4 separate regions of the Homo sapiens genome follow, and regions 2, 3 and 4 are each linked to region 1. The links are contacts of gene promoters, found by promoter capture Hi-C in blood cells and fetal thymus (Javierre and others, 2016). All regions are on one chromosome and are shown on one strand. Each heading gives the region's core, a stretch centred on a gene start or on the middle of the fragment in contact. The rest is flanking DNA. Distances are from core to core; before and after follow the strand shown. Region 1 holds the start of MXD1 (MAX dimerization protein 1). Region 2 overlaps PCYOX1 (prenylcysteine oxidase 1). Region 3 has its middle 2.2 kb from the start of MIR1285-2. Region 4 has its middle 6.9 kb from the start of C2orf42.

Region 1 (2,563 bases), core at 28-2,527:
AGAAACAGCTTCCTGCAATGGCTTAAGTCCATGTGTACATTACTGAATCATGACGGCCACAATGTAATTTTATAGGGTTATAATCACAACAGAAAACTTACATTCAGCAGTTTGTGTCACCTACAATATAATCTAAAAGACAGAAAGAAGTATTTACCAAATTACCTGCTACTGCTGTTATTCTTTTTGGATTTGTTCCTCCGTTTTAAGGCATCTCTGTCCTTGTTATTGTATGGTAACATGGAGGCATAACCATGTTCAGCTTCTAGAAAACAGGAGGATCCAGTTAATGAATGGGCCCAGAATATTTAATGCTCTCTCCTCTCTACAGTATTTCCTTTTTCCTTTATTTATCTTTAAAAGAATATTGTGGAAATAATTAAATGGAGTAAGGTGGAATTCTGAGAACAATGATTTAAAAAAAAATTGTGTGAATATCGTCAATTCGGAGCAGGTGTAAGGAGGATTCCAGCTGCTCATTGTTGAGAAAGACACAGTAGTGGCTAGGCTCACGCAGCCTGGGTTTCCCACTGGCTACATCCAGCAGGTTGGTGCGGGTTAAGTGGAACCAGCTCAGGCGAAGGTGCGGGGCAAGCACCGTGAGCCGGGGACCGGGAGGCGCTGCTCCTCTGCCCAGGAGACTGGGGCGCCGGGCCCACCTGGGGGCCGGCCGGGACCAGCCCGGGTGAGGTAAACCAGGGAGGCTATCGGAGGGGGCCCCGGCCACCCACTCGTGAAGGGCTGGGGAAGGGGCGGCGTTCGGGACCCCGGCGGGCGGCAGCCCCTTCTCCACCCCATTCATTGCTTTGGGGCAGCGGCGGCTTCCCTTCGGACCGCGCGTGGGGAGAGCCAGAGGGGTTGGGAGCGCTCGCGGTCTCCCCGCCTCCAACCACCCCCGGAGCGGCTGGGCGCCCGGACCTGAGGCCGGCCCCACAGGACCCCCGGCCTCGTTTCGAGTGGACCCCTCCCCGTCCCCGTGCACCTCTCTCCCGCCGCTCCAGATAGTCGGCCGCCTCCAGCAGCATCTGGATGTTCATCCGAACCGCCGCCGCCATTCTGCACCGGGGGCCGGAGCCACGGGACCAACCCCCACTGCCCACGGGCTCGCTGCCGCCGCCGGACCGCTGTGGAGCCCGCTATGGAGCCCGCTGTGGAGCCCGCTGTGGACCCCGCGGAGCAGGGCTGAGGGAGCCTCTCTGGCAACCACGCTCGACAAGAGAGGGAGGGGGCCAGTGAGCTGGGCACCGCCGACACAGTGACAGAACCCGGAGCAGAGCAGCAGCCGCCACCGCCGCGGAGTGTTTATCCCCGACTCACCATCTCCCCGCCCCCAGCCCCTTCTCTTGACAGGCCAGCTTCGGCCGCGTTCCTCATTGGGCCCCCCAAAGAATGCCCCGCCCCTACACTTGTGCGATTGGGAGAGGGCTTCAGGGCTCCACCCCGCAAAGTCCGCTCCTCTCGCTGGTTGGTCACACTTGACAAGGCCCGGGCTCCACCCCCTCTTTCCAACTGGTGACAGGATTCGCAACTCCGCCTCGTGCTCCTTCCTTGTTTCCCATTGGTTCTATACCAACAACCCGGGCCCCCTTTTGCTTTGTTAGTATTGGCCAAGAGCTGCAGAAGGCAAGCACCTCGCCGGTCTCCCATTGGTGAAGCCTTCGGAAACCTCCCAGCTACGATGATGTCACCTTTCTCCAGGCCAGGCGAGCCCTAAGTGGCTGATGGTCAGCAGCCTGGCTGCTCCTCACCGGGTCTGGCATTGGCTGGGAGGGCCGGTCCGGCGCTGGGCGGCGCTGATTCACCAGCCGCTGCGGAGCTCTGCTCCACCCGGCCTTGCCTCGGACCTGTTGCCAAGACCTGTCCCCGGGGAAAACTTCCGGGGACCTGCCAGGCGTCCATCGAATGGAAGGCTGGCACCTCGTGTCGCCTGGGCGCTCTGCCCCGCTTGGGTTCGGGGCCGGAGCCCTCGGTCTGGTGGCCGCGGCCCTGGAGGTTCTGGGCTTCGCGGAACTCGGGCTGGCGAGGGCCCAGCCTCGAATCCTCCCGAAGAGCGGTGCAGGCTAGTGGCCGGTGAGCCGGGAGCTAGGGCAGGCGCCACGTGGCTGCTGCGGGGCTTGAGAAGAAAAGCCGGCCGTTGTTAAATGCTCGCCGCTCGGCGTTTTTTCTGCCCTCAAGAAAGAGCTGGAATCGGGCTGCAGTATACAGCATTGAGCTCATGCGCCTTTTCCGCACCCCCCTCCACCCCCGGGAAGTGATGGAATAATTAATTACTTTCACGCGAGCGGCTTTTTAAAGCTCAGAGACTTCCTGAACCTACAGAATGGCATTAAACCCTAAGATTCTTTGCTTAAATCTCTTTTGGGGTTTTCCCCTCCCTTTTAATTCTAGATGAAAACACTCACAAGATTATTGTTTTTGTTTGTTTGTTTTGAAAGGGAGTTTTGCTCTTGTCGCCCAGGCTGGAGTGCAATGGCGCGATCTCGGCTCACTGCAACCTCCTTCTCCCGGGTTCAAGCGATTCTCCTGCCTCAACCTTCTGAGTAGCTGGGATTACAGGTGCCCA
Region 2 (2,563 bases), core at 26-2,525, 360 kb before region 1:
TCTCCAGGGTTCAAGCGATTCTCGCGCCTCAGCCTCCCAAGTAGCTGGGATTACTGGCACACGCCACCATGCCTGGCTAATTTTTGTATTTTTAGTAAAGACAGGGTTTCACCATGTTGGCCAGGCTGGTCTCAAACTCCCGACCTCAAGAGATCCACCTGCCTCAGCCTCCCAAAGTGCTGGTGAGCCACCATACCCAGCCTAAACTGGTTTTTGTTTTTTTTTTCTGAGACAGAGTCTCGCTCTGTTGCCAGGCTGGAGTGCAGTGGTGCGATCTTGGCTCACTGCAACCTCCGCCTCCCGGTTGAGGCAATTCTCCTGCCTCAGCCTCCCAAGTAGCTGAGATTACAGTAGCTGGGATTACAGACATGCGCCACCATGTCCAGCCAATTTTTGTGTATTCAGTAGAGATGGGGTTTCACCATGTTGGCCAGGATGGTCTTGATCTCCTGACCTCGTGATCCGTTTGCCTTGGCCTCCCAAAGTGCTGGGATTACAGGCGTGAGCCACTGCGCCCAGCCTAAATTGGTATTATAAGTAAAAATATATCCCATTGCAAAACAAGTCTACAAATGATGGAAATTAATTAGTATTTACCAACATTTAGCATATACATAACAGTATTACTTTACAAATTGTCTTCATTAAAACCACAAAAGGAAACAAATATGAATACCTCAACATATCTGTTAAGAATAAAACTAGAAAAAAACACTCTTTTGACAAACCATGAGTTTAATCCCCTACCTATCAAATATATCTTGGCAGTTTTATCAGCATATTAACATTCACAACTGTGGTAGGGAAGAAGTCATTTTTACTCAGAACCAAAGTTTACACTATTTTGCTAAAGTAGCTAATGCCATGATCTGATGAAGGACTTTGAAGTTTCTATTCAATGGAAGGATTTTTTTTTTTTAAGATGGTCTCTGTTGCCCAGGCTGGAGTACAGTGGCATGATCATGATTCACTGCAGCCTTGACCTCCAAGGCTCAAGTGATCCTCCCACCTCAGCCTCCCGAGCAGCTGGGACCACAGGCGCGCATTACCATGCCTGGCCAACTTTTTAAAAATTTTTTGTAGAGATGGGGTTTCACCATGTTGCCCAGGCTGGTCTAGGCCTTTGTAATTTTTTAATAACACTACATGTTAAATTGGTTGCATTTACTTTTGAACTCTTAATCTTTTGCTTGTTCTGTTCTACCAGTGTCTTGACAGTTAATCATGATCTTTGCACAGTAGATGCAGAACTAGTTCTGAAGTTTTGCTGCCTGTTAATTACCATTTGGATGCTTTAAAACCCTACAGGTGATTCCAATGTGCAGCCAAGGTTGAGACCACTGTCTTAAGATTTCAGCAACCAATTTCTCACCCAGAATGCTACAGTAAATGAAACACTTAACTCTTTGGACATATGCTGGACTTGGTTAACTTTGGTGTCATTCCAAGTATTCTGTTCTAGTGCCAACTGCTCAGGAGTTATTTAAGTTGCCTCTGCTGTTAGGCTGTCTGTGCTTATTATCAAGATTACTTCTAAAGTTCTTACTAAGAGAACTGAGAAAGTTCTAAAAGAAAGATCCTTGCAAAATGGATCTGCTTTGATACAGATTGGGCTTCTTAGGACTTCTAAGGCACTAAAACCCTTTGTAGGCATTTTCACACCCACATTGGTGATTCCCAACCCTGGGTGCACATTAGAAACTTTAAATAGCTACAATGCTAAGGTCCTATCCTCAGTCTTTGAATCTGAATCTCTGGTTATGGGGGGGTCTCAGTATTTTTAAAAGCTCCTGAAGTGAGGATTTAATACTAGAATGCCAGTTTCTTAATTCAGTAGCCCATATTTGCTTTTCATTTTACTTGAGATTTTTGTTTAACATCTTCAAGTTACATTACTAAGACTTCTAAATTTCACCCCTAATCAAATCAAGACAGAAGAATCAAAAGACAACATTCTGAAAGTCAAGGCTTTAGGCATGGGCACACGTACTTCAAACCGGTATGAAATTACTAAGAGTCAGGCATAAGACACCAGCTCCCATAAATTTTATCTGACTGAAGATTATATCTAGCTGTAAAATTCAAAAGGACTACTCCCCAACTAAGATGTCTTTAAGTTCTCCCTCAGGTACTCACCTTAAAATGCTCTACAATTTTGATCAAAATCCAGCGCGCCACTCCCAGACCTACTGAATCAGAATCTTCAAGAGAGGAGCTTGAGAATCCATATGGTTTAACAAACTCCAGGTGATTATTTTTATTTACTTTTGAGACGGAGTTTTGCTCGTGTTGCTCAGGCTGAAGTGCAATGGTGAGATTGGCTCACTGCAACCACCACCTCCTAACTCCAGGTGATTCTTATTATCAGACAAGTTTAAGAAAAACTCCTAATGGATAGTGAAAGAATACTTAAGAAATTTTGGAGATGGCATAAGTGCAATAGCTATACCTTCACACTTAATTAGAACCGTGTGTTTTCCTATGACCAGCAGGGATTACTTTTATTAAACAATGATAATGGCAAAATATCTGGTTCAAAATCATCTCTGCTCAGATTTTGTTC
Region 3 (2,563 bases), core at 23-2,522, 340 kb before region 1:
ACATGTGAATACAATAGAAATAAAGTAACAGCATAAAGTAATTTGAAAGCTGTATTATATTATTATTCACTTTTCAAAAAATTGTTTTCAAGGAAACAAATATACTTTCAATGTAATTACAAAGCTTCAAAAAAACTCCTTTTAAAGTTATATACAAATAATTTAACAACTTTAATTGTGAATTCATTTTTATACTCAACACTCCTATTTAGTGTAATGTCTGAAGTAAAGCAGGACATAAATTTTAAAAGGCAAAGGTATCCCTCTTCCCACACTGCCTGGAAGGACAAAGGTTAATCACTAAAGACAATTTTACGCCTGTTAAATAAAATTCATAGGAAGCCATTGGTTTGGACTGAGCTCCTGCACTAGACTAGGCCCAACAGACTAAACCAAAATGGAGTCACTCAAGTCACTCATGTTCCACATCACAAGGTCAAAACTAAGTTGTCGATCTGACTTTCTAAGAAATCAGGAGAAAGAAAAATAATAGCCAAATTCCCGACAGACCAGTTTGAAGTGACATGATAAGGAAATACCCTCTGCTTTAAACTTTTCAAGGAAAGTAACCTCGAAACAACCAATGCACTTTTCTGTTTCTGCTTTCTTCAGCCCTTTCTGAAAGCCAACCTCCTCCACTCAACTCATAGGAACACTCATTCGATTTTATAAAATGAGGTGTTGCACAATTCTACAATCGCAACTAAAAGCCAATTATGCTCTTTAAACTAAATTAGTTGTAATTTTGTCTTTTGACAAACCTTTATCAGCCAGGAATCTACATGACAAACTTCATTAATGAGCCTTTTTCTATCGCGTATTTGCCTTCCCATAATTTGCCACCCCTAGAGACTCAAAATCATTTTCCTTCTCTTAACACTTCTCTTTTTTTTTCTTTCTTTCTTTTTTTTTTTTTTTTTGAGACGAAGTTTCGCTCTTGTTGCCCAGGCTGGAGTGCAATGGCGCAGTCTCACGGCAACGTCCGCCTCTCGGGTTCAAGCAATTCTCCTGCCTCAGCCTCCTGAGTAGCTGGGATTATAGGGAAGCGCCACCACACCCAGCTAATTTTGTATTTTTAGTAGAGATGGGGTTTCTCCGTGTTGGTTAGGCTGGTCTCGAACTCCCGACCTCAGGTGATCCGCCCACCTCGGCCTCCCAAAGTGCTGGAATTACAGGCGTGAGTCACTGTGCCCGGTTCTCTTAACACTTCTCTAAACATATACTGTTCTTTTTTGAAGATGCTGTATAATCCTGAATTCAAAGCTACCTCTTGGAGATTTGCTCATTTCCCTGGTCTCTCTTTTGAATACGTGACGTACATGTTTTTAAATTTCTGTTTTTCTTTTTTTCTTTCTTTCTTTTATTTATTTTGAGATGGCTTCGCTCTGTCACCCAGGCTGAAGTGCAATGGCACTATCACGGCTCACTGCAACCTCTCGCTCCTGGGCTCAAGCGATCCACCCACCTCAGCCACCAGAGTAGAGTACCTGGGACCACAGGCATCCACTACCATGCCCAGCTAATTTTTACATTTTTTGTAGAGATGGTTTTTTGCCATATTGCCCAGGCTGGTCTGGAACTCCTGGGCTCCCAAAGTGTTGGGATTACAGGCATGAGCCACCATGCCTGGTCCTGTTTGTTTTCTTCTTGTTAATCTGTCTTTTGTTACAGGGGTCTATCACAACCAAAACCTCGGAAGGGTAGAGGAAAACTCTTTTTTTCTCCCCAACATACCATACAATAGAACATTATGCATGCATTAAAAGGAAGCCAGGCACGGTGGCTCACGCCTGTAATCCCAGCACTCTGGGAGACCAAGGCAGGCAGAATATCTGAGGTCAGGAGTTCAAGACCAGCCTGGCCAACGTGGCAAAACTCTGCCTCTACTAAGAATACAAAAATTAGCTGGGCGTGGTGATGCATGCCTGTAATCCCACCTACTTGGGAGGTTGAGGCAGGAGAATCACTTGAACTTGGGAGGCCAAGGTTGCAGTGAGCTGAGATTGCACCACTGCACTCCAACCTGACAGGCTGATCTCAAAAAAAAAAAAAATTACAAAAAAAGAATGTTGGAGCTTGGCGCAGTGGCTCACACCTGTAATCCCAGCACTTTGGGAGGCTGAAGCAGGCAGATCACCTGAGGTCAGGAATTTGAGACCAGGCTGGTCAACATGGTGAAACCCTGTCTCTACTACTAAAAATATAAAAATCAGCCAGGCGTGGTAGCGCACACCTGTAATCCCAGCTACTCAGGAACGCTGAGACAGGACAATTGCTTGAACCCAGGAGGCAGAGGCTGCAGTGAGCCAAGATTACGCCACTGCACTCCAACCTGGGCGACAGAGTGAGACTCCGTCTCAAAAAAAAAAAAAATGGGTCTATAACTAATGTCCTAGTATTATCAGTTGAGAAAAGCTTGTGGTTGCATGATGGGTATAAAATGATCTCATGCCTCTTTTCCTTTCTCTGCCATCGTGGTGTGTTCTTGACTCCACCCTCACCATGTCTTCTCACAAGACTTTCAGGATTAAGTGATTCCTGCCCAAGAAACAAAAGCAAAATC
Region 4 (2,563 bases), core at 36-2,535, 280 kb before region 1:
CTGTCCTCCCCACTAAACTAAAGTACTGATGACTATTTCCTTTTTTTTTTTTTTTTTCTTTGAGACAGAGTCTTGCTCTGTCTCCCAGGCTGGAGTGCAGTGGCACAATCTCGGCTCACTGAAACCTCTACCTCCAGGGTTCAAGTGATTCTTCTGCCTCAGCCTCCCAAGTAGCAGGGATTACAGGTGCATGCCACCACGCCTAGCTAATTTTTGTATTTTTAGTAGAAACGGGGTTTCACCATGTTGGCCACGCTGGTCTCGAACTCCTGCCCTCAAGTGATCTGCCAGCCTCAGCCTCCCAAAGTGCTGGGATTACAGGCATGAGCCACTGCTCCTGGCCTGGTGACTATTTCTTCAATGCCATAATATCCAGTACATGGTAAATAATAAAGCTTAATAAATGTTGAATTAATTGATTAATGAATGAGTTAATTAAATTGTTATTTCAAACAATCTAGTTTTGACCAAATGGCTTTCCACCTCGTGTGGACAGTACTACCAGCTGGAGTACTGGGAGTAAGTTAATAAAAAGCTGGCATTGAAGGACCAAATCAGGGCCAAGTTCTTTAAGCCATGTGATGTCATTTAAACTTTTTTTATCCTGAAGACCCCAGGGAGCCACTGATCCAATTTGTATTTAGTCAAGACGTGTTCCAGGTTGCAGACTTGATGAGCAGTTAGATGCATGGTGGATCCTTAGTTACTGGGATGTGAGAAGGCAGAGAAGCATGTTTGTGAGAGTGAGTAAGGACAGGAGCTATCATGGTGAGAGAGCAGGAGATGAGAGCAAATTAGTCTTACCTTTTTTTTTTTCAGACAGAGTCTCACTCTGTTGCCCAGGCTGGAGTGCAGTGTGTGATCTCGGCTCACTGCAGCCTCCGTCCGCCTCCTGGGTTCAAGCAATTCTCGTGCCTCAGCCTCCCAAGTGGCTGGGATTACAGGTATGTGCCACCACACCCAGTTAATTTTTGTATTTTGGGTAGAGACGGGGTTTCGCCATGTTGGCTAGGCTAGTCTTGAACTCCTGACCTCAGGTGATCCGCCTGCCTTGGCCTCCCAAAGTGCTGGGATTACAAGCGTGAGCCACCTCGCCTGGCCTTATCTTTCGATATGTGAGATTGGACGTGGGTGACACAGGTAGAAATATCCAGTAGGTAATGACATGGAATTTCGGAGGGTGATCTGGGCTGGATATAGAAATGGGAATCGTCTGTGTTTACGTGTTAGTTCAACCCTTGGAGTAGAGATCACCAAGTGAGATGAGGACTGTGGATAAAACTCAGGATCATTAGTGTTCAAGGAGGCAGAGGCAGGCCGGGTGCGGTGGCTCATGCCTGTAATCCCAGCAATTTGGAAGGCTGAGGTGGGCAGATCACTTGAGCCCAGGAGTTCAAGACCAGCCTGGGCAACATAGCAAGACCTCATCTCTACAAAAAATTAAAAAAAAATAGCCAGGCATGGTGGCATGTGCCTGTGGTTCCACCTGCTCAGGAGGCTGATGTAGGAGGATCATTTGCGTCCAGGAGGTTGAGACTGCAGTGAGCTGTGATCATGCCTCTGCACTGCAGCCTGGGCAACAAAACAAGACCCTGTCTCAAGAAAAAAAAAAAAGAGAATTCATGTGTTTTTGTGCATGTCTATACTGTTTTTCTAGGATACTTAGAAATTGAATGGGTTAAGGAAATGTGAATTGTAAAAATTGTATTGTATAGTGCCAAATTACCCTCTTAAAATGCTGTATATCAAAAAAAAAAAAAAAAAAAAAAAGGCTGTATACCAGCTGGGAGCGGTGGCTCACATCTATAATCCCAGCACTTTGGGAGGCCAAGGCAGGTGGATTCCCCCGAGGTCAGGAGTTCGAGACCAACATGGTGGTTGGTCAACATGGTGAAACCCTGTCTCTACTAAAAATACAAAAATCAGCCAGGCGTGGTGGCGCACACCTGTAGTCCCAACTACTGGGGAGGCTGAGTCAGGAGAATTGCTTGAACCTGGGAGGTGGAGGTTGTAGTGAGGCAAGATTAGGTCATTGCACTCCAGCCTGGCTGACAGAGCGAGACTTCATCTCAGAAAAAAAAAGGTCATATACCGTTTTACGCTCCAACCATTTATGTCAGAAAGCTCTTATTTCCCTTACATTCCTTCACCAATGCTGGTTGTTATCAAGCTTTTATCTTTTGCCAATCCAATGAATGTAAAATAATCTCTTTAGCTGTATTTCCCTGATTACAAGTAAAGTTAGTCATTTTTCATGATAATTGGCCATTTGTATTTATTTCTGTGAGATATCTGTTCATATCCTTTGTCTATTTCTTCATTAGATTGTTTCACTGTTTTTTTTTATCAATTAGTAAGAATCCCTTATATAGTTTGATATGCAAAAATCCTCTCTGAAAAAATGTGTCCTCCACCGAGGTCACTCAGGATTACCTCAGATTAAAATAATCATTTGAAGCCAGGTGTGGTGGCTCACACCTGTAATCCCAGCACGTTGGGAGGCTGCGGTGGGTGAATCACAAGGTCAAGAGATCAAGATCATCTGGCCAACATGGTGAAACCC

The links. Contacts are between HindIII fragments. The CHiCAGO score rates a contact against its expected background, and 5 or more counts as called.
Region 2: a fragment that was not itself captured here is called in contact with the fragment with the promoter of MXD1 in region 1 in 3 of 17 cell types (non-activated CD4 T cells, naive CD8 T cells and total B cells); the score reaches 6.9 in non-activated CD4 T cells.
Region 3: a fragment that was not itself captured here is called in contact with the fragment with the promoter of MXD1 in region 1 in 5 of 17 cell types (total B cells, fetal thymus, naive B cells and 2 more); the score reaches 7.7 in total B cells.
Region 4: a fragment that was not itself captured here is called in contact with the fragment with the promoter of MXD1 in region 1 in 10 of 17 cell types (naive CD8 T cells, total CD8 T cells, naive B cells and 7 more); the score reaches 14.6 in naive CD8 T cells.

The regions. Positions count from the first base shown.
Region 1 is chr2:69,913,823-69,916,385 of GRCh38, reverse strand. It overlaps MXD1 (MAX dimerization protein 1), which reads right to left and starts at 1,277. Exons shown (of 6, transcript NM_002357.4): 1 at 983-1,277; 2 at 166-265. The coding sequence starts at 1,055. RefSeq lists a silencer at 674-903 and enhancers at 1,554-1,753, 1,854-1,963, 1,446-2,051, 2,064-2,113. The HindIII fragment of the contact is 7,248 bases long and covers 1-2,563 here.
Region 2 is chr2:70,277,448-70,280,010 of GRCh38, reverse strand. It overlaps PCYOX1 (prenylcysteine oxidase 1), which reads right to left. Exons shown (of 6, transcript NM_016297.4): 6 at 1-2,563. Among named protein-coding and RNA genes, the nearest start is that of SNRPG, 15 kb to the left of the region's middle. The HindIII fragment of the contact is 6,133 bases long and covers 1-2,563 here.
Region 3 is chr2:70,253,950-70,256,512 of GRCh38, reverse strand. It overlaps the pseudogene RPL39P15. Among named protein-coding and RNA genes, the nearest start is that of MIR1285-2, 2.2 kb to the right of the region's middle. The HindIII fragment of the contact is 2,291 bases long and covers 127-2,417 here.
Region 4 is chr2:70,196,661-70,199,223 of GRCh38, reverse strand. No RefSeq gene overlaps it. Among named protein-coding and RNA genes, the nearest start is that of C2orf42, 6.9 kb to the right of the region's middle. The HindIII fragment of the contact is 1,775 bases long and covers 398-2,172 here.